6 separate regions of the Homo sapiens genome follow, and regions 1, 2, 3, 5 and 6 are each linked to region 4. The links are contacts of gene promoters, found by promoter capture Hi-C in blood cells and fetal thymus (Javierre and others, 2016). All regions are on one chromosome and are shown on one strand. Each heading gives the region's core, a stretch centred on a gene start or on the middle of the fragment in contact. The rest is flanking DNA. Distances are from core to core; before and after follow the strand shown.

Region 1 (3,660 bases), core at 1,101-3,600, 510 kb after region 4:
CATGTCCACAAAAATATTTTCTTTCTTAGGAATCAAACACTTTTATTGGAATAAAGATCCTTCAAAGTTTTTAACTCTTCTATTAGAGTTTTATTTTGATTTTCCAGGACTGCAACTCGGTTTTCCAGGCATTTCACATATTCTTTCTTCTTTCTGCGACATTCTCGAGCAGCTTCTCTAAATATGAGCATTAAAAAAACAATGTTAGAAAAAACTTCACATTCTTTAAATGGTAAATGTTCTTCAGTAATTTTCCGTGGTCACCTTTTTTTCTCTTTAAAGTATCATCTACACACAGAGAATACATAGATCTTAAGTGTAGAATTCAGTCAGTTTTGGCAATTGTGTATACCTGTATAACCCACACCTCTGTCAAGACAACAGAACATTCCCACTGTCCCAGAAAGTTCCCTCATGCCCCTTCCTGGTCAGCCCCCTTCCAAGCAACTATCGTTTTGATTTTTATCACCAGAGATTAGTTTTTTTCCTATTCTAGAACCTCATGTAAGAGTGTCATACACTATGTACTCTGGTGTCCCTTCACTCAGCCCATCTGAGGTTCATCCATGTTGCTGCATGGGGGTTTGTTCCTTCACACTGCTGGACATAGTTCACTGTATGAATATAACCACCATTTGTGTATCCAGTCTCTTGCGATGTTTCTAGGGTTAGCTGCATAGGCATGTTTTTGTGCCAGTCTTTTTGTAGAAAGGTTTCATTTCTCTTGAATAAATACCAAAGAGTGAAATTATGGGTCCTCTGGTTAACTTCTGACACATGACTTCTTTTATTTAAGTTCAAATTACAAACAATGCTTGAGCAAATACTCAGTTCTGTGCATGTCCTCTTAAAACATTTCTGTGAAGTCATATGTAAGTTTATATACATATAGAAATCGGAAGTATTGGCCAGGCATGGTGGCTCATGCCTGTAATCCCAGCACTTTAAGAGGCCAAGGCGGGCAGATCACCTGAGGTCAGGAGTTCGAGACCAGCCTGGCCAACATGGCAAAACCTCATCTCTACTAAAAATACAAAAATTAGCTGTGGTGGCACATGCCTGTAATCCCAGCTACTTGGGAGTCTGACCCAGGAGGATCACTTGAAGCTGGGAGGTGGAGGTTGCAGTGAGCCAAGATCGCGCCACTGCACTCCACCCTGGGCAACAGAGCAAGACTCTGTCTCAGAAAAAGAAAGAAAGAAAGAAACAGTACTATTTTAAGATTTTTATGCTATATATGTAGATACTATTTGCAACTTGCTTTTTAGTACACATCTTTAAAAGGACTGTACAAAATCTTTCCCCTCACAAAAAGACTTTATTTTTACCTTTAAGCTCTGTTTGTTTGTTTGTTTTAAGTGGTTTCCAGTAAACATTCTTTTTCTTTTTTCTTCTTTTGTTTTGAGACAGGGTCTCACTCTGTCAACCAGGCTGAGTGCAGTGGCACAATCACAGCTCATTGCAACCTTGACCTCCTGGACTCAAGATATCCCCACTTCAGCCTCTCAAGTAGCTGGGACTACAGGTGTACACCACCACACCAGCTAATTTTATTTTTGTAGAGATGAGGTCTCAGTATGTTGCCTAGGCTGGTCTCACTCCTGGTCACGGTGTCGGGATTATGGGCATGAGCCACCCACTCAGCCTCCATTCTTTACGTGTATTTCTACACATGTATTTCTTGAAGGATCACAAGCTATATTCACTTAAAGTCAAGAGATAGTGCCAATTTATATTCATTGAAGTACAGAGAAATAAGGGGGGAAAAAAGGAAGGAAAAAAATCCCAGAGTCAAACCAGAAAGAAAAAAGGGAAAAAATGCCAGAATGTCCTCCAGAGTATTTGTACCATTTACATTCCCAGGGGCAGTACATGAGAGTGCCTGTTATGAACATTTTAAAATGGTTGTCAGTCTAGCGGCTGACAAAAAGCGAACCTCACTGCTTTAACATTTCCCTCATTATGCACAAAGTTTGGAATAATTTCATGTTTACAAGGCCATCTTTCACAGACCGGTTTCCTTCTGTTAGGTCTCTTATTTACAGAAATAAATCTTTATATAACCTATACATCTCGTAATTCTTTCTCTTTATATAAAAGTTGCAAATATTTTTCCCAGTTAACAGACTTATTTTTAAGTTTCTTTATGGTATCTTTTGTCACATACAAGTAGAAATGTTGGGGCAAGTAGATACCATAAAACTCCGTACTTCCCTCAGTAATGTATGTGAGGTACCCTTTTCCTTATATGCCCAATGACAGACAGTATTACCACTTTATAATTTTTGCTACGTGACATCTCATTTCTTATTTTTATAGTTGTAGTATATACGTATATGACCCTAAAACTGCTATCATTTATTTTCTAAAATTATAAAATATCATACTTTGTGTATTCTGTTGCAACTTGTTTTTTCATTCAATTTTTCTAAGATTTATTCATGTTGAAATGATTATTCATTCAGTCATTACAAATAAACATTCCATTCTATAAATACAGTCACAATTTATGTACCTATTCTTTTTTCCCCCCATTTTTATGTTTAGGCTCAATATGTACCTATTCTGTTATCAATGAATCTTGAGGTTGTTTCCTGATTTTTTGCTGCTATGAAAATTCTTATACATACTTCCTCCAAGTTCCTCTCAGTCACACAGACTAAAACAGCTGGGTCACAGAGTATACCCACGTCAACTGTACAAGATAAGGCCTAATTTCCAAAATGGCTGCATCAATTTACACTCCTATAGTAGTATCTATGAATTCCTGACCATTGTTCCAAATCCTTGCCAACTCTTGGTTAGACTTTAAAATTTTTGCCAATTGGGTGGGTATAAAGGGTATCTAAATGTGTAGCATTAATGTGTATTTCTTTGATTACTAATAAGGCTGAGTAGTCTTTTATATGATTATTAACTACTTGTGTGTTTTTTTTTGTTTGTTTTATTTTTGAGACAAGAGTCTTGCTCTGTTGCCCAGGCTGAAGTACAATGGCGTGATCATGGCTCACTGCAACCTCTGCCTCCAGGTTCAAGTGATTCTCCTGCCTCTACCACATCTAGCTAATGTTTTAAATTTTTTTTAGAGATGGGGTCTCCCTATATTGCCCAGGCTGGTCTCAAACTCCTGGGCTCAAGTGATCCTCCTGCCTTGGCCTCCGAAAATGCTGGGATTACACGTGTGAGCCACCACGCCTGGCCTGTATGGTTTTTTCCATTAAAATGTTTCTGTGCATATTTATGGAGCACATGAGAAAATCTGTTACATGTATATAATGTGTAGCGATCAAGTCAGGGGATTCAGGGTGTCCATCACCTGAGTATTAATAGGTTTTTGTTAAGGGTGGTCATCCTACTCTGCTATGAAACACTGAATTTATTCCTTTTATCTTACTGTGTATGGGTTTGTACCCTTTAACTCTCTTCATCCTCCTCCTTGCCCCTCACCGTTCCCAGTCTCTGTTACCTATTTTTCCATTCTCTCTTTTTTCTTGAGATAGGGTCTTGCTCTGTTGCCCAGGCTGAAGTGCAGTGGTGCGATCATGCTGCCTCAACCCCCTGGGCTCAAGCAATCCTCCCACCTCAGCCTCCCGAGTAGCTGGGATTTTAGGCACACGCCACCATGCCTGGCTAATTTTTTATCTTTTGTAGCAATGGGTA
Region 2 (3,680 bases), core at 4-2,503, 480 kb after region 4:
AACAAATACACTGTACTATATATAAGGCATTATGGCTATTTGCAAACATAGCTTAGCTGAAAATGGCTGAAGTTAAATGGTCCTCTATCACTTCAAAATATCCCCTAAGAGCATAAAAATAGTTGTGTTCTGAATACGTACCTAGCGTCTTTAGTGCAGTGGGCAGCTGTGAGGACCCACCTCTCTCTCACTAGGGTTCCCCCACATACATGAACAAGAACACGGCCATATTTAATCTGCAGGCTCACCACCCACGGCCATGCGCCAGCTTGTGCTTCGGTGCCCCCTATAATCCGAGACCCTTGCAACACATCCTTAAGCGGTGCTGTTCCACAATCTAAAAATAAAAATGATATATTATTTGGACTGAGCATCTATAGTATGTGTTACTTCCTAAGCTGAACATATTAATGCAATCCTTTAAATTCCTATGTTAAAAACACAAAGCAAGCTAACATACCGGAGACACGCCCATATTTTGAAAGAAACTTGGAGAGTTAAGACAAATATGCCATAATCGATTACTTACAAATAGACATGAAGTCAACACAATTCATTAATTTTAAAACTCTATTCCCCAAAAATATAAAAATAAAAATTTTTGGCCACGTATCACATTCTTCCCTGTGTGAAATAGCAGTTAAAGAGCCTGGGAACGGTGAGTCGAGAGCCGCAAATTCTAATGCTCACCATTTCACTTGTTGGGCTAATTTTTCTCAACTATAGTATGAAATGGTCACCTAATAGCCCTCCCTTTCAACTCTTTATCCCCTGACTTATTAATCTATAAAATGGGGATGATAAAACCCAGAATGTTTTGAGGAGAAAATACAGATTCACAATACAAATGTGTCATTTCACTATTACAACTACTGTTATTACAGCCGGTCTAGAAACTGCTTAGGTATGTAAAATTTTGGTTAAAGGCCATTGGGACAACAGAAAAGGAGAAACCCGAATTCAAAGACTATAGCGGTGGGGAAAAGGTAAGAGAGGCTCCCCAGAGACAGGCACGAACAGGTACTGCCCTCTGCATGCGCCCCTCCCTCCCTCCGCCGCCGGAGCCTCTTGCGGACGGCCTCAGCCTGCTGGGAACTAGCCGCCGGTTCCGGCGAGGGGCCGAGCCTGTGCCTTCCAGAGGGCGAGTAGTGGTCTGAGTATAAGTGAGAGCTCCCCACAAACAACAGCGCCACGCTCAGGAGCCCCAGCCGCATTTTGGAGGCTGGTGAGCAAGATGGCGGCAGGTACTTCCCACCCGCCCTGGGCACGCGGGGCGCACGGCCTGGCGGGGAGGCGCGAGTGAGGCCCGGAGGTGTGGGAGGCGGCCGAGGAATAGGTAGGTCAGTTTAGAAAGAACCCCTCACCCTCAAGGTCTGATCGGCTTCCTCATCCACCACTATCCCCCAGGTGATGTCTGATCACCCTGGCCTGTCCAGCAAGAATCCTGTTAGGTCGGTTAGCCGGAATGCCATTACTCCTGATGCTACCTCTTAGTAATTTTCCATCCACTGACACGTCTCTCCTGCTCCGTGGCTGTAAATTCTCCCTTGGCTCTGCTCTGTTTGGATTTTAGCCCAGTCCCTCTACCCATTACAAAATCCCATTGCCATGGTCCCTATCCCTATCTGGATGGTCCTGAATAAAGTCTGCCTTGCTGTGCTTTAATGAGTATCACTGAATAATTTTTCTTTAACATAACCCAGAGTTTTTAAGAGTGATACCTAATGTTCAGTTTTAAATTGTTCTGTCATTCCTATCTTGACCTATACTGAACTTTGCCTTTGTTAACCCAACACCTTCAGTAATAAGAAGACCGTGTGGGCTGTGGGAAGTTGGTGAGGTGGTGGAGAGTTAACGTAGAGGTCAATAAAAGGACAGTTGCCTTGCTCATACCATCCTTCCGAGGCTGGTGCAGTTGGCAGCATTAGATAAAAGGAGTATATGAGTTTGGGGCTTACACATGGTAACATGTGGGGAAGGGAGCAGAGTCTCAGAGCTGTGCCGAAATTGGGGTGGAGGAGGTGATATTGGAGAAACAAATTGCAGCATGAGCTGATCTCTGAGGGCTGACAAGAAACAAAGTCCTTATTCCCCAGATATTTTAGTGGAAGGTGATATTAGGAGGAGAAAAACACAGTTGGGGTGTGTGTATTTCTGTGTGTGTGAGATGTGGTCAGATTGTGTATGCCTTTGTAAACAAGGCAAGATGACTTTTTTTTTCTTTTTTTAAACCCATAGCCAACGTGATAAGGATGACGGGTCTTGCTATGACAGATAGTAGAGGTTTAACATACTCATAAAGCAAGTATATGCAGCCAAGTCATCAAATAGCAGTGACACAGGCAGTGGGCTGGGCACGGTGGCACATGCCTGTAGTTCTATTATACAGCACTGCTTTAAACAATATATTTTTTAGTTTTACTACTCAGGAGGCTGAGGCAGGAGGATTGCTTGAGCCCAGGAGTTCTGGACTGTAGTATGCTATGTCAACTGGTCAACTAAGTTTGGCATCAATATGGTGACCTTCGGGTAGTGGGGAACCACCAGGTTGCCTAAGGAGGGGTAACTGGCCCAGACTGGAAATGGAGTTGATCAAAATTCCTGTGTTGATTGGTAGTGAGATCATGCCTGTGAATAGCCACAGTACTCCAGCCTGGGCAACAAAGCAAGACCCCATCTCTCCAAATAAAATGAAAAAGGCAGTGGATCAATAACTGCAGAGGTCTTCTTCCTGGATTTCCTCTGCCTTTTCTCCTCTCCTGCATTGTCATTTCCTGTCTTTGGTGGGATCACTCCTATCTGCAGACAAATATCCTCTGGTATGGTAGGTAGCCTACAAAATGCCCGCCAATGAACCCTGTCTCCTGGTATTCACAGCCTTAGTCAGTTCCCTCTCCTTTAGTGTTGGCTGGATTTCGTGACTCACTTCTAGTAAATAGAAAGTAGAGGTGATGGGCTACCACTTTCAAGATTAGGTTATAAAAAGATTGTGACTTCTGTCCTGAGCACTCTCTGCAGTCCTGTTGCTCTAAGGTAAAGCTGCTGCCATGTTGTAAGCTGCCCTGTGGCCCTGTAGAGAGGCTGCCAGCAAGAGCCATTGAGGAACTGAAGTCCTCAGTTGAACAGCCACGAAAAGCTGAATCATGCAACACCGCATGATCTGCTTAGAGGCAGATCTTCCCCGATCACACCTTCAGATGAGACCACAGTGCTGGCTGACACCCTAACTGCAACCTCATGAGAGACCTTAAGTCAGAGACACCCAGCCAAACTACACTTAAAAGTTCTGACCCACAGAAAATACGAGATAAATTTTTGTTGTTCTAAGCTACTGCATTTTGGGATAATTTGTTACGCAGCAACAGATAATACATCTGGTTTCTCCCACCTTAGAAAAATCTTCAATTGACTTTATATCCCCTACTTTCCTCTATAGCAAAATTTCACCCAAGAAGTTGTTTACAATTACAGTTTCTACTTTCCACTTCCTCAACTTTTTTTCTTTTAGTAGAGACAAGGTCTACATTGCCCAGGCTGGTTTCAAACTCCTGGCCTGAAGAAATCCATCCACCTCAGCCTCCCAAAGTGTTGGGATTACAGGTGTGAGCCACCGCACCCAGCCTACTTCTTCACCTTTTATTCCCATCTTTGTTTTTTAAAAATTTTGTTGGTTTTTGTTA
Region 3 (3,904 bases), core at 465-2,964, 260 kb after region 4:
GCACCTGCAGAGTGCAGAGGAACTGGAGCGGCTCAAGGCAGAAGAAGATTCCAGCGGCTCTAGTGCCAGCCTGGACTCGAGCATCGAGAGCCTGGGTGTGTGCATCCTAGAGGAGCCTCTGGCTGTCCCCGAAGAGCTGTGCCCAGGCCTTACAGCCCCCATTCTCATCCAGGCTCAGCTGCCCCCAGGCTCCTCTGTCCTGTGTTTTACCGAGAACTCAGACCACCCAACTGCCTCAACGGTGAACAGCCCATCCTACTTGAACAGTGGGCCCCTGGTCTATTATCAAGTGGAGCAGAGGCCAGTCTTGGGAGTGAAAGGAGAGCCTGGTACGGAAGAAGGCTCAGCCTCTTTCCCAAAGGAGAAGGATCTGAATGTCTTCTCTCTCCCTGTTACCTCACTCGTGGCTTGTAGCTCCACAGACCCAGCTGCCCTCTGTAAATCAGAGGTGGGGAAAACACCCACCCTAGAAGCTCTATTGCCCGAAGATTGTAACCCTGAGGAGCCTGAAAATGAAGACTTCCACCCTTCCTGGTCCCCCTCAAGCCTCCCCTTCCGCACGGACAATGAAGAGGGCTGTGGGATGGTGAAGACCTCCCAGCAGAATGAGGATCGGCCCCCTGAAGATTCTTCCTTAGAACTCCCTCTGGCAGTGTGACAGGCGCTAGAGGTCCTGCCTCTTACCCATTCTCTATTTATTCCCTTATTTTATCTAACACCATTTCAAAACAAAACTGTAGAAGCAGCTGCTGCTCCCATGTTATTTTATTGGGGTCTTTGGGGAATGGGTGGGAAAGGATTGTTTGAGTATTTTTTAAAAGGGAAACAGTACCAAGGAGACCAGCCCTACCTTGATCTGGGGATAGTCTTGGGGCAAAGAAAGCTGCGTAGTGCTGAACATTAAGCTTTCTGGGCCACTGGAACAAAGAACTAGGATCTCACAGGAAAAGCTGGGTAACTCAAGCAGCTATTCTTTCTGTAGGGACCAGAACACGAGAATTTGAAGAGCATGGCAAAGCCCTTTCTCTCCCAAGCCCCAGGCAGAGTACAAGCTCATTTTTCTCGGTGGTTATTCTGATATCCCATTTTGGTGTGTCATAATACTTCAAACTGGAAAGTCACCTGGTCGAGTCTAGGGAGGAGGGAGTGGAAGGGTCTCTGCTTCTGTACAAAATCTCCAGGATTTACAAAAATGTAACCTGCCTTCCTTCAATCCCATATTTGGTAAATAAGTTAATATTTGACATGTTTGGTGTTCTCTGACCTGTTCCCCACACTGGGGATTCCTGGTCTGTAACTTGAATTGTTTCTTCCACATGTTCTTAAGTACTAGAGTTAAACTTGTCTATGTGTCTTTTTTCTCTCCATCCTTTTTCCTTCGGAGAAAGAGCTGGATTGGCTGGGGATATGGTATAACGAGCCTGAGCCTTCTGTACGTGTCTGACACTAGCACTGTCAGGCAGCTTTCGGCTGGGGCTCACCCATCCCATAGGAGGCCTATGTGGAGCATTAACTGTGGCCAAAGGAGGCAGCGGGAACAGGCTGCTTGCTATCTGGAAAGATGACATATTTGTGCCATGCTTGTTTTTTCACCCAGGTTTTTCCCTCTTTGTGAGATCTGAGCTTTAGTGGAATGTAGAATGTGGCAATCTTAAGGTCACCAATCAGTTTTTGTTCTTTTTTCCTGGATCTACCCTCATGGTCGTTTTCAACATAGCGGGTTAGAGTTCTTATACTGTTCCAGTTCAATTCCAAGAATTGCAAATGTTTATTGGACCCCTCCATCTTGATGATATATAAAAATTGGAAGCCAAACCAGTTCTTAAATGCTACATGCAACTCCCAGATTCCAAAGGATTCAAGTTCTAATTATAACCTTTGAAGCGTATAGAATGGAACTCATTCAGTTTGATTCAGTTCTTACCTCTGTCAGGAGGAATACAGTTCCTGTTCATCCTGTGTTCTAAGATCTCCATTGAACAGCACTGATTTCCTTTCATTAGCAAAGTGATCTTTGTCTCTGTTCTAAAATGGAGGCAGTAGGGAGCAAAACTATTCTTCTCAAGCATCCTTTACACCATACTTTACTTCTGGTATGGTTTATTAACCACACACACACACAAAAGTGAAAAACTGTGTTGGGGGGGAGACACTACTCCTACTTATCTTGCTCATAAAGCCTTTTCTGGTGGGATATTAAGGCCCTGGTGTCTTACAGAAACCATCACGTATGTCGCAGCAGCATTTCACCCCTGAAGTCTCTAAACTCTGAGCCTGAAAAGATTTGTATTTAATACACATAACATTTTTTAGTTCATTCTGCCTTTCCTATTTGTTCCAGTTTTTGCTTGGTTTTAGTTTGGAGGGGAACTTAAGTACACAGATCCTTATCTCTCCCCATCCCCTAGCCTCACAAAACACAGTTGAGAGTCTTTTAAGTACCTGAGCTCTCGAAGCTACCCAGAACTGAACTAGACTCCCCTACCTTAGACTGGTACCCTCAAACACAGGACTGAAGCTTAATTGGGAATTTGGCTTTATGGAGAAAAGAATCTTTTTCAAAGTTTGTGTCGGAAGGGGAGGGTGAGGTTTGCCCACTGTCTCTGCAGGAAGGCTCCGGCTTAATCTAGGAAGTAGATTCCAGCTGCACGATGAGGAACACATTAGCTTTTGGGATCAAACCAGGAATATGAATCTGTAATTATTAAGCTCATTGCCAACCCACAAGATATGTTTCTGAAAACCTGTAGTTTCTTAATTTAAGTCCATCCCCTTCATTAACGCTACAGTTGTGACTCACACTGATCCCAAACTTTTAAGTGCTAAATATTAACATTTAGCATTAACTGTCTTGTCAAGCGAAAGGCCTTCTCTACAACCTAGTCCATCTCACTTCTGGTGCTACCTGAGTTGGACAGAATTCTAGCTCATGGTTGCTAGGAAAGCTAGGCCTCTGATCATAGAAGCAGATAGCTTCAGTCCCAGTCTAGGCCTAGATAAATGACTCTTATTACCACAACCCTTATTATTTTCCAATTTCCTTTCTCACATACTGTACACAGGTAGTATTTTCAATGTGAATCCAAAGCTTGTCTGGTTCTCTGAAAATAATTTTTTCCCCTTTAGGTTCTTTACATTGTGATAATGCTGTATTTAAAGAGAATATTTAAATGTAATATTAAAGAAATATTCAAAAGAATGATGTGTTACTCTTTGTCTCGGCAGGCCACAGTTCAGTTACTTGTTAGAAAAAGGATGCTTCTCTAGCTTCGTTATAAAACTAATTAGGTCAGTTAGGAATTAATGTTAACAATAGAAACATTTTGTGATGGAAAAATAGAATATTCTCTTTGGAGTACCAAGAGCTGGACTTGGTTCATATGCCCTTGTGTACCTGTTCAGCTGAAGCAGGCCTTGCTCCTGCTCTGTTGGAGCTTAGCCCTGTCCCTACTCTGGGCTCCCATTTTCTCATTCCATTAACTTTTTTTTTTTTTTTTTTTTTGAGACAGAATCTCATTCTGTCGCCCAGACTGGAGTGCAGTGTCGTAATCTCGGCTCACTGCAAGCTCCGCCTCCCGGGTTCACGCCATTCTCCTGCCTCAGCCTCCTGAGTAGCTGGGACTACAGGCGCCCACCACCACGCCTGGCTAATTTTTTGCTATTTTAGTTGAGACGGGGTTTCACCGTGTTAGCCAGGATGGTCTTGATCTCCTGACCTTGTGATCCGCTCGCCTCAGCCTCCCAAAGTGCTGGGATTACAGGCGTGAGCCGCCGCGCCCGGCCTCATTCCATTAACTTTATGAAATTCTCTTTTCCTTGTTATCACCTTAAAGTGTCCAGCAAGGAGATCAACTTCAAATCAGTTTCTGCAAAACTTCCATCCCATCAGAAGGTTCTATGCCAA
Region 4 (3,646 bases), core at 14-2,513:
AAGAAGAGGAACACAGTAGCATACAAGGGCCTCTAATTTTGTGTCAGGCCCTATCTTCCCCCTCCACTCCTTAGGAAGTGTTATTTTGACCTTCTTCCCTGCCTTGAGGAAATTTTAACCTGCACTGTAAAATCTGAGTACGTGGTTCCTCCACACCTAGTGTCCTAATCTCAAGCTATCCCCTCAAACAGGTCAGGGAGGAATTTTTTGGAGAACTTCTCCCTAAAGAAACAATAGTTGTCATCTCAACAGCCGCACCCCAATTTGCACAATCTGTGTCTGTGTTCACATTCTGCCTCCATCCAGTACACTGTACTCCAACTAGAAAAACTTGCTCCTCATGCTCAGCACGGGCGTCCATACTATCCTCCTCAGCCTTTTTTCAATGTGATCATTCTCTTGCCTAAGAACCAGCCCCCTACCCTGTTTCTATCTCCAGCTTAGTTGTTCCTCATTTATTTATTTATTTATTTATTTATTTATTTATTTATTTGAGACGAACTGTCGCTCTGTCGCCCAGGCTGGAATGCAGTGGCGCGATTTCGGCTCACTGCAACCTCTGCCTCCCGGGTTCAAACAATTCTCCTGCGTCATCCTCTCGAGTAGCTGGGACTGCAGGCGTGCGCCACCACACCCAGCTAATTTTTGTATTTTTAGTAGCGACGCGGTTTCACCGTATTGGTCAGGCTGATCTCCTAACCTCAGGCGATCCACCCGCCTCGGCCTCCCAAAGTGCTAGGATTACAGGCGTGAGCCACCGCGCCCGGCCTGTTTCTCTCTTTCAAGCCCGGCTCGGGTGTCCTGCCTGCTTTCTGCACTCTATCCCTACCAGTTCCAGGCTTAGAGCCTACCTGGAGCAAGAAACGCAGTGTACATGGCGGCTTCGCATGCATACTCAGAGAACCTAAACGTGTTTTCGATATGGTAGGTCCTCTCGCTGAGTGGAACCCACATCATTTTCTACCCTGCGGTGGCAGTTGCTTTGCAGTGCTCAGCGTGATGGGAACTGGCTTTCCGGAGCGAGTGAGTGTGGGCCCACCACTGAGGACCTGGTTCAGTGAGGCCGAGGTTTCGGGCAGGGGTTGGAGCTCGGAAGCTGGCCTCGAGCGAGCGCTGCCTGAGGGTAGGCCCCGGGCCCGCCCCTCCGAGCCGGCCTGCTCCAGCTGACAGTGGTGGGCTGAGGGGCGGGCCTCAGGGCTGGCCAGGGGCGGCCTGAGGTGGCTCAGGGCTGGGGCCGGATGCGAGGCATGCCGGGAGCCCGCACTTCCTCCTCGGGGGCCTCAGAAAACCACAGGGCGCGGGGCCAGGGCGGCGGCCCCCAGGGAGTTGGCAGGATGGCAGAGGGCAAGGCAGGCGGCGCGGCCGGCCTCTTCGCCAAGCAGGTGCAGAAGAAGTTTAGCAGGGCCCAGGAGAAGGTAGGTGGCCGGGCCTCGCTGTCTGTCTGGCCCACAGGGAGCCGAGGCCGAGGCCGAGCCCGGCCGGGCAGGAGGGGCGGGCAGGGTGCTCAGGGGCCCCGAAGGGTCTGGGCTGACGAGAAGGGTCTCCCGCTCTCCCAGGGAAACGGGAGCGAGGAGTGGGCTTCCATGAAAACTGGCAGATTGGAGAGAGGTCGGAGACCGCCACCCGATCTTGGGCAAGGATAAGGGAAGCTGGGGAGACAACAGTCTCTGGGCAGAACCTTCGACAACCCTCAGGCTGACCCAGAAAAGGTGAAAGAAAGGAAGTGATGGTGGTGGCCACCTTTGTATCAAATTTTGTGCTAGCAATCCAAAATTGGTATTTTACAGATGATGAAATTGGAGGGTAATTTTCCATAGAGGGCAATTTCCCCAAAAACAGCGATGCAGCGGATGCCAGCAGGCACCCCCCACCAAAGGCTTAGAATAATCCTGCATAGTTCTCCCCCTACCTGACCCTGCCTGGCCTCTGGGTGGTGTTTCAGCTGACGTAAGCAGGAGCCCAAATCTGCTTCTTCTACCCTCCCTTTGGCGTTGGGGAGTACACCTCCCAGGGTGATGAACCACATCTGTGTTCAGAGTGTGTCCTTGGTTAGTGTCAGGTAGCCCTGCTCCAGCACTGGCACTTAGGTGGGCTGCCCATCTATTACTTGCTTGGCAATCTAAATTGTGGGGACATTCTCTACACATTTTGATGGCATTTTTGTTTCTACCTGTACAGAATATTTTCTTTGCTTCTAACCTGAGCCTCTGCTCTCCACCTACCAACCCTCTAGTAGACAAGGCGGTTTGGGAAGACATGTCAGCCAGAAGAAAGAGCGAGGGAAGAAAGACAAGAAGGACCTGAGATAGAGTTTCGGTTTTCCTTTTTTTCTCTCTCTCTTTATTAAGCCCAACCTGCCTTCTACAACGGAGAAGTTTTGGTTTTCTAAGAGCTGATGGACTTAGAAGCATTTGGATGAACAGCTCTGCTTACCAACTGAAATATCCCTATTATCTTCTAAAAGTGGAGCACTGCTTTGAGCCCTGGGAAGGCTTAAAGGCAACCAGCTCTCCCGAGTTGATTTATCAGCAGAAAACTGATGGAATGTAGATGTAGCTCCTGACTTTAAGAGACCACAATGGAAGGGAGGTTATTTTCTATCATTTGAGGTCATGTGAAAGAGAGGAGGAAAAGGGAAAGAGTTCGTGTAGCCAGACTTCGTTACTTCACTTACCCTAACTTCACCTTGATCCTAGTTTCAGCCTCTCTGAAGACTTACAAATCTGGTAGACCCGAGAGCAGGGCCTATGGGAAGGTCTAGCTCGAAACAGTGTGGGCGAGCAGGAGGTACTGGAGAGAAGGCCACACTGTGGTTGAAAAAAAAAAAAACCCTAAAAGACAAAACACTCATGAATGATAGTAATTTTAAAAAGACATACCAGCCAGGCACAGTGGCTCACTCCTGTAATCCCAGCACTTTGGGAGGCCAAGGTGGGAGGACTGCTTGAGCCCAGGAGATCAAGACTGCAGTGAGCAGTGATCACACCACACCACACTCAAGCAGAGGGAGACTCTGTCTCAAAAAATAAAAATAAATACATAAAAATAAAAGACATACAATTGATTGTATTTCACTCTTGCATCTTCTGTCTTCATCTAGCCTCTCGTCAACACTAAAACCTTGCTTTGGGCTTTCACTCCTTTGTAAGCATAGACTCCAAACCTTGGCTAAATAATGTCCTGCTCTGGGCTTCAGATCTTGCACCTGTAAAATGAGAGGGTTGATGTTCTTGATGAAACTCAATATGGTAAGAACACTAAATTGAAAAGCTGTCACATTAGACTCAGAGTCAAATACTTCCCAAAGACAGAACCAGTCTCTCAGGTTCTTCTGGCCTGAACCCTGAGGAAGTAGAGAAAGAGGAGCAAACTCAAATCTGCCATGAGGAATTCCCAGCTGATGAAGAAAACAAGATATTCTGAACCTAGACTAGACAAAAGGGTAGGCAAAGGTTGAACTTCGATAAGGTGGGAATGGCCTGGGATGCCGGAAGGGAGCTCAGCTCCGTCAGCCTGAAGCCAGTCCTTGAGTCTTGGGAAGTTATTGAGACCAAGATAAAGAGGGAGAAATTTGCACTAAAATGAAAGAATTCCTTGCAACACTTTTTGCTTTTTCTGCAAGCAGTTGGATGTAATCTTCTGAGTA
Region 5 (3,493 bases), core at 63-2,562, 460 kb after region 4:
CCTATCCAATGAGTTTTAAATACTAGCAATTACGTTTTTCATTTTTAAAGATTCTAGTGCCTAGTCCTTCTAAATAGTCTATTGCTGATTTTTGGCCGGGCCCTGTGGCTCATACCTGTAATCCCAGCACTTTAGGAGGCCGAGGTGGGTGGATCACGAGGTCAGGAGATCGAGACCATCCTGGCTAACACGGTGAAACCCTGTCTCTACTAAAAACACACAAAAAATTAGCTGGGTGTGGTGGTGGGCGCCTGTAGTCCCAGCTACTCAGGAGGCTGAGGCAGGAGAATGGCGTGAACCCTGGAGGTGGAGCTTGCAGTGAGCCAAGATCTCGCCACTGCACTCCAGCTGGGTGACAGAGCAAGACTCCGTCTCAAAAAAACAAAACAAAACAAAACAATAGTCTATTGCTCATTTTTAATTCTACCTTTTAGTTCTTTAAACAATTTACATATTTTTTTATTCTATACCTAAAAATATTAATATCTGAAGTCCTTGGGAGGCTTAATATGTTTGTTGTTTCTGTTGGCTTTCACTATTAATGGTTTGTTTCCTTATGTGTTTGGTGATCTTTGAACTGATATTTGGTTGATTTTAATCTGTGGGATCTTAAGTGCTTCTAAACTTTAGCCCATTGAATTAATTTCAGTTATTATATTTAATTATATTAGATATGTATGTTAAATATATTAATTATTTGTGATCTTTTTATTGTAATCCATTCGATTTCACTGCAACTTTATCTGGTTATATTCTTTGAAGCCTTAGATGAAGTTGGGTTTCTATATAAATAATTTGCATTTGATGTTGTCAGGATCAAATCTTGGGATGTTACTAAGCTAGAACCTGTTTTAAACTAAATTCTCAGCTTGAAGCTTTGTAGTCTACTCAGTGTTACTTTGGATAGCAAATCCGTGTGAGTGGTATTTATAGTTACATATTTTGGGGAGAGGGAATTTCTAGCTTTTCCCCCTTCCATTAGGCAGTTTTCCCAGTAAACATGGGGATGGCGATAGGAGGTGAGGATTTGTTGGTTATATGTGGTTCATTTAAAAAGCTTTTTATTTTAAAATAATTATGGAGTTATTGGTAGTTGCAAAGATAGCACTAAAAAGTCAAGTGTACATTTTATGCAGTTTCCTACAATGGTTACATCTCTGTCACTGAAATACAGTATCAAAATCTGGAGACTGACATTAATACAATGTGTGTGTAGATTCATGAAACCACCACAAAAAAACAGGGCATAGAGTTATTCCATCAGGACAAAAATCTCCTTCATGCTACCTAACCTTCTTAACCCTAGCAACTACTAATCTATTCTCTGTCTGCATAATTTTGTCATTTCATTGTTATATACTTGGAATCATATATGACATTTTAAAATTGGCTTCTTTTCACTCAACATAATGCCCTTGTCCATCTAACTTGTTGCATCTATCAATCGTTCATACCTTTTAACTGCTTAGTTATATTCTATGGTAAGGCTATACTAGTTTATTTAAGCATTCTCCTATTGAAGGACATTTTGGTTGTTTTTAGTTTTTGGCTTTTAAAATAAAGCTTTCATGAACATCTGTAAATAGTTTTTTTGTGTGTGGACATTTGTATTTCTCTGGGATAAATATCTAGGGGTACAATTGCTGGGTCATATGGTAAGTGTATGTTCACATGTATGTTTTTAAGAAACCATATGTCTGTTTTTTGGTGTACACACGTTTAGCATTGCTATGTCTTCTTGGTGGACTGAGGGCCTTTTATTATTATGTAATGTCTCTCACCATCCTTGTAATCTTCTCTGCTGTAAGTCTACTTTATCTGATATTTATATAGCCATTCCTACTTTCTCTTTTTTCCATTCCAGCTTCCTTTTTTTGTCTGGATACAGGGTCTTTCTCTGTTACCCAGGCTGGAGTGCAGTGGTGCTATCATAGCTCACCATAACCTCGAACTCCTGGGCTCAAGTGATCCTCCCACATAGCTGGGACTATAGACATGCACTACCATACCTGGCTAATTTTTTTAGCGACGAGGTCTCCCTATGTTGCTCAGGCTGGTCTCGAACTCCTGGCCTCAAGCAGTCCTCCCACCTCAGCCCCTCAAAGTGCTAGGATTACACGTGTAATCCAGCTTTCTTTTGATTAATGTAGCCATGTGTATTTTTCCCTCCTTTTTTTTTTAACCTACCTAGATCACATTTGAAGTATACTATATATATAAGAACAAGGCGGGTGCAGGGGCTCACGCCTGTAGTCCTAGCACTTTGGGAGGCCAAGGTGGGCAGATGACTTGAGGCCAGGAGTTTTGAGACCAGCCTGGCCAACATGGCGAAATTCCATCTCTACTAAAAATACAAAAATTAACTGGGCGTGGTGGTACACCTCTGTAATCCCAGCTACTGGAGACGCTGAGGCACAAGAATTGTTTGAATCCAGGAGGCGGAAGATGCAGTGAGCTGAGATCGCATCACCACCTTCCAGCCTGGGTGACAGAGCAAGACTCTGTCTTTAAAAAAAAAAAAATTATATGCTGGGTCATGAGTGTGACTCATTTTTAAAGTATAGCCATGGGACAGACTCCAGCTTTATGGGAGTGTCTTCCCTACTTCCCAACTTGGACAAGTTTTATTCTTTAACCATTTCCTTCCAAGGCCTATGAAACCACTGAAGTCAATATTAAAAGTTAACATTTTGGCGAATACCCTCAAGATCAAAGTCAACTTCCGTGTTCCAGTTCCCTGTCTAAGTTTCTATCGTCACACCGAGTCCTTAACCTATGTATTCTCCCTCTTTAATAGTTTTCAGTGGGGAGCTTGGTATGTACATGTAAACTACCATGTTGCTGGAGAACTAATTTAATTCTCAAAACAACTCTCTGATGGGTATCATTGCTCTCACTTTAAAGATCATGAAACTGTATGACATTGTGAAAGATGATATATTAGGCCGGGTGCACCTGGCTCACGCCTGTAATCCCAGCACTTTGGGAGGCCGAGGCAGGTGGATCACGAGGTCAGGAGATCAAGACCATCCTGGCCAACATGGTGAAACCCCGTCTCTACTAAAATACAAAAAATTAGCCGAGTGTGGTGGCACGTGCCCGTAGTCCCAGCTACTGGGGAGGCTGAGGCAGAGGAATCACTTGAACCCAAGAGGCAAAGGTTGCAATGAGCCGAGATTGCGCCACTGCACTCCAGCCTGGAGACAGAGCAAGACTCCCTCTCAAAAAAAAAAAAAAGATATATTAATAATACAGTGGAAATACATGAGATTTGCAACAGGCAGAACTGGGCTTGAATTCTGACTTCATCGTTTAGTTATTTTATTAGTTTAAGCAACTTATTTAACCTCTTTAAGCTTTATTTTACTCATTCATTTTATAGTATTTTCTGTAGTGTTGCTGGGGGTATTAAATGAGATAATGCATTGCAATGCTTAGCATTTTATTAAGTACTGGGCCCTAAACAAACGGTAGTTGCTTCTATTATTGTTCT
Region 6 (3,619 bases), core at 47-2,546, 400 kb after region 4:
AGGTAAAATTAGTATCTCCTTTAATTAACTCTTTAAGTTTGAGCACTTTTGTCCTATAATTGGTTTACATTTCTGTTCCTGTTATTTGCCCATTTTCCCTTTTGTTTTTCTTATTGAAAAATATTGATCTTATTGACATGTAATGTCTTTTAACATGAGGGAAGTTAACCCTTTGTCTATCATCCCTGGCAAATATTTTTTCCAAGCTTGTTTTGTAGTTTAACTTTGTTTTGGGGAGTTTTTTTTTCTTATTCTTTTTTTTCTTTCTTTCTTTTTTTTTTTTTTTTTTTTTTTGAGATGGAGTTTCACTCTGTTGCCTAGGCTGGAGTGCTGTGGTGCAATCTTGGCTCACTTTAACCTCTGCCCCACCAGGTTCAAGCGATTCTCCTGCCTACAGGCACCTGCCACCATGCCTGGCTAATTTTTGTATTTTTAATAGAGATGGGGTTTCACCATATTGGTCAGTCTGGTCTCGAACTCCTGACCTCAAGCGATCTGCCTGCCTTGGCCTCCCAAAATGCTGGGATTACAGACGTGAACCACTGTGCCCGGCCAGGAGGTTTTTTCTTTATAGCAGTTTTAAGTTTTTATATTCAGATTTATCAATCTTTCTCTTTATAGCTTCTCTCCCACGCTAAAATTTTAAAAAATTCTACAGTATTTTCTAGTAGTTTACTTTTTATGTTAAAATGTTTCAGCCACCTGAAATTGACAGGCCTGCCCTCTATGATAATAGCTGCTACTAACTAGTCCTCCTCACACCCTTTCACTCACCGGTCTCAGCACTCTGCACACCTCGCGGAGAATCCGCTCCTGGTTCTTCACAGAGCACAGCACCAGGGTGCAGACCACCACATCCACAGAGCCATCAGCCACCTGGTGCATGTTCTCCCCGGCAGCTACCACAAAGCGCTCAAACTGCAGGTGTCGGTTCTCTGCAATGCTCTTGATCAAAAACTTCTCAAAGTTGGGGTTGGGGTCAATACAGGTCACCCTGCACCCAGGTGGGTAGAACTTGAAGTTGGCCCCCGTGCCACAGCCCACTTCCAGCAGGGAGAGTTTCCCGGAGGGGCCCGCAAACTCCTGCAGGTTACTGAAGAGCTCCCGCTTCTTGCTTGCCATCTGTTCGTTGTATATCACAGTGAACCTCACCAAGAAGTAGGGGAACCATTTTTTGCATATCCAGCTCCACAAGCCCAGAAAGTTCAGCAGGTACAAGGGAAATGTCAGGATGTAAATGGCCAGTCTCAGGATAAAGATGGTAAGCTCCATTGCTCAGAAGGGAAAAAAACAGATCAACAGTTAGAGACCCGACTCCTTTAATTGCAGGAGAGAGGCTTCTGGCCACACTCCAGAGCCAATCAGCTGCAGAGGAGAAAAAGAACTGGCTGTGCTGGAAAGTCAAATCATGGGCAAGAGGCCAATTTTGCCTAATAGATGTTTGGCAGCAGTCGATTCAGCTTAGTTTTCATAAGGCAAAATGAGAAGGTTCCCAGCTTTTCCTCAGAAGGAAAGTGGATTATAATCCTTTATTCCTAATCGATTCCTGTTTCCCCTTCTCTGGGTTTGGAGACAGCTGCTAGCTTCCTGCTAGAGTTTTATAAGCGCAGTGTACTTACACCCCACCGGGCTCTCCAGTGACCTCTAAAAGAAAACAGAATTCGTGGGTGGAGCCTGGTCAAACCACACCAGAAGAGTGCTGCCAAGGCCCCTTTATCATAACACATCCCCCTTACTTCCCCCGCCCAAACCCTGTTTTTTTTTTTTTTTTTTTTTTTTTTAAAAAAAAAAAAAGGAAGTGAAAGGACATGCATGCCCGGCCACAGTCAGCAAGAATTCTCTCTTTTACATTCTGGGCAGAGGCTCTCAGTGTTCACAACTCAACGTTTTTGTAAACCAAAAATAATGTTCTAAGGCCTCTAACCATCTGAATGGACTTTCTCCTTGGCCAGGGCGCTTTTAAAATTTAACTTGAGAGATTGTTTCAGGCCATGAGGGGAAGTGGGGGTCAGATATGCCTCATTATACCTCAAGCCGGCATTCACATCAACGCAGACCTTAAGTACATTTACAATCTATTCTCTCTGAAGCCTGCTACTTGGAGGCTTCATCTGCATAATAAAACTTCAGTCTCCACAACTCTTATTGCAACCCAGACATTTCCTTTCTATTGATCCCAGGTCTTTAGATAAACTCAACCAATTGTCAACCAGAAAAATTTAAAACGTACCTATAACCTGGAAGCTCCCTGCCTCGCGTCGGGTTGTCCTGCCTTTCTGGACTGAACCAATGTATTTCTTAAATGTATTTGATTGAAGCCTCATGTCTCCCTAAAATGTAGAAAACCAAGCTGTACCCTGACCACCTTGGGCACATGTTCTCAGGATTTCCCGAGGGCTGTGTCACAGGACATGGTCACTCATATTTGGCTCAGAATAAATCTCTTTAAATATTTTACAGAATTTGACTCTTTTTGTTGATATTTTAAAATCACTGTTTTGGGCTGTACTTCCCCTTTTAAAACAATTTTTGGCTCAAGGAAGTCAGTTTGTGGGCTGCCCTTCTTTTAAAGGACAAGCCTCAGTCTTCAAAATGTGCCTAACTACTCGATTACTCAGCTAATTTGGATAAAAATATTTCCCAGAATATTCACATTTGGGAGCCAAAGGGATTCAGAAAATAGTTTCAAGCATCCATCCGCTTTTTACAAGAAAGCCCGAATCTGGGCACAGTGGTGGGTGCCCATGGTCTCAGCTACTGAGGAGCTAAGACAGAAGCATACCTTGAGCCCAGGAATTCAAATCCTGTCTGGGCAACATAGTGAGACTCTATCTCTTTAAAAAAAAAAAAAAAAAAAAGAAAGAAGAAAAAGAAAAAGGCCTGAGCTTTAGGGTGGCTAGGGAACACAGAAAAAAATAATTTTTTAAAAATAGTAAACATTTACTTTAAAAAACTGGGTGATGGATACAGGGAGTGTTCTGTTGTTTCATGATTTGTTATAACCTGCATGTATTTTATAAATATTGTATCTATTCCATTTTTAACAGATTTTTTTAGGTGGAATTGACATATAATAAACTTTACATATTTAATGTGTACAGTTTGATAAGTTTTGACATATCTATATACCTGTGAACCCATCACTTCAGCCAAGATAAATGAACATATCCATCACCCCTAAAAGATTACTCTTGCTCCATTGTGATCCTCCCTTCTGCATTCCTAATCCTGAGGCAATCAGTGGCCTGTTTTCTGTCTGTGGCCTGTTTCCTTTCCTTTTTTTTTTTTTTAAATGAGCAGCAGCAAGATTTATTGTGAAGAGCGAAAGAACAAAGCTTCCACAGTGTGGAAGGGGACCCGAGCGGGTTGCCCTTCTGTCTGTTTTTGAAAACAGGATCCAGGGAAGAAACTGAGCAACTCCACAGGACTGGAAGATTCTAAAGCCCTCAGCAAAGGAGAATGAAAGTAATTTTGTAGAGAATTTAATTATTCTTTTTAAAATGGAGAGGCCTATGGCCACAAAGTTTGCTTGTAAGAAAAGTACCAAAGTAACCCCAGACATAATCATTAAGAAAATTAAAATACTTTTGGGAACCTACCTGGCTGGACAACTTTGCCA

The links. The method cuts DNA at HindIII sites, captures the fragments that hold promoters and counts their contacts. A CHiCAGO score of 5 or more calls a contact.
Region 1: a fragment that was not itself captured here is called in contact with the fragment with the promoter of BIN2 in region 4 in 1 of 17 cell types (activated CD4 T cells); the score reaches 5.2 in activated CD4 T cells.
Region 2: a contact is called between the fragment with the promoter of TMPRSS12 here and the fragment with the promoter of BIN2 in region 4, in 13 of 17 cell types (endothelial precursors, fetal thymus, monocytes and 10 more). The highest score is 16.3, in endothelial precursors.
Region 3: a contact is called between a fragment that was not itself captured here and the fragment with the promoter of BIN2 in region 4, in 7 of 17 cell types (endothelial precursors, M0 macrophages, naive CD4 T cells and 4 more). The highest score is 6.7, in endothelial precursors.
Region 5: a fragment that was not itself captured here is called in contact with the fragment with the promoter of BIN2 in region 4 in 1 of 17 cell types (endothelial precursors); the score reaches 5.1 in endothelial precursors.
Region 6: the fragment with the promoter of TMT1A here is called in contact with the fragment with the promoter of BIN2 in region 4 in 9 of 17 cell types (fetal thymus, total B cells, M2 macrophages and 6 more); the score reaches 12.4 in fetal thymus.

Annotation. Positions count from the first base shown.
Region 1 is chr12:50,816,152-50,819,811 of GRCh38, reverse strand. ATF1 (activating transcription factor 1) reads right to left here. Exons shown (of 7, transcript NM_005171.5): 7 at 1-177. The coding sequence ends at 33. Among named protein-coding and RNA genes, the nearest start is that of TMPRSS12, 25 kb to the left of the region's middle. The HindIII fragment of the contact is 4,813 bases long and covers 1-3,660 here.
Region 2 is chr12:50,840,499-50,844,178 of GRCh38, reverse strand. TMPRSS12 (transmembrane serine protease 12) reads right to left here and starts at 1,253. Exons shown (of 5, transcript NM_182559.3): 1 at 1,028-1,253; 2 at 142-337. The coding sequence starts at 1,214. It also overlaps the pseudogene RN7SL519P. The HindIII fragment of the contact is 6,106 bases long and covers 1-3,680 here.
Region 3 is chr12:51,060,500-51,064,403 of GRCh38, reverse strand. CSRNP2 (cysteine and serine rich nuclear protein 2) reads left to right here. Exons shown (of 5, transcript NM_030809.3): 5 at 1-3,199. The coding sequence ends at 658. It also overlaps a transcript of LETMD1 not described here. Among named protein-coding and RNA genes, the nearest start is that of LETMD1, 14 kb to the right of the region's middle. The HindIII fragment of the contact is 1,613 bases long and covers 908-2,520 here.
Region 4 is chr12:51,321,791-51,325,436 of GRCh38, reverse strand. BIN2 (bridging integrator 2) reads left to right here and starts at 1,263. Exons shown (of 13, transcript NM_016293.4): 1 at 1,263-1,415. The coding sequence starts at 1,335. LOC105369767 (a long non-coding RNA gene) reads left to right here and starts at 1,429. Exons shown (of 2, transcript XR_944957.3): 1 at 1,429-1,709; 2 at 2,234-3,069. RefSeq lists a silencer at 1,028-1,517 and an enhancer at 1,548-1,737. The HindIII fragment of the contact is 11,893 bases long and covers 1-3,646 here.
Region 5 is chr12:50,861,559-50,865,051 of GRCh38, reverse strand. The region is part of intron 3 of TMPRSS12 (transmembrane serine protease 12); the gene reads right to left. Among named protein-coding and RNA genes, the nearest start is that of TMPRSS12, 20 kb to the right of the region's middle. The HindIII fragment of the contact is 506 bases long and covers 1,060-1,565 here.
Region 6 is chr12:50,922,692-50,926,310 of GRCh38, reverse strand. TMT1A (thiol methyltransferase 1A) reads right to left here and starts at 1,296. Exons shown (of 2, transcript NM_014033.4): 1 at 775-1,296. The coding sequence starts at 1,272. RefSeq lists enhancers at 416-959, 1,973-2,182. The HindIII fragment of the contact is 3,129 bases long and covers 209-3,337 here.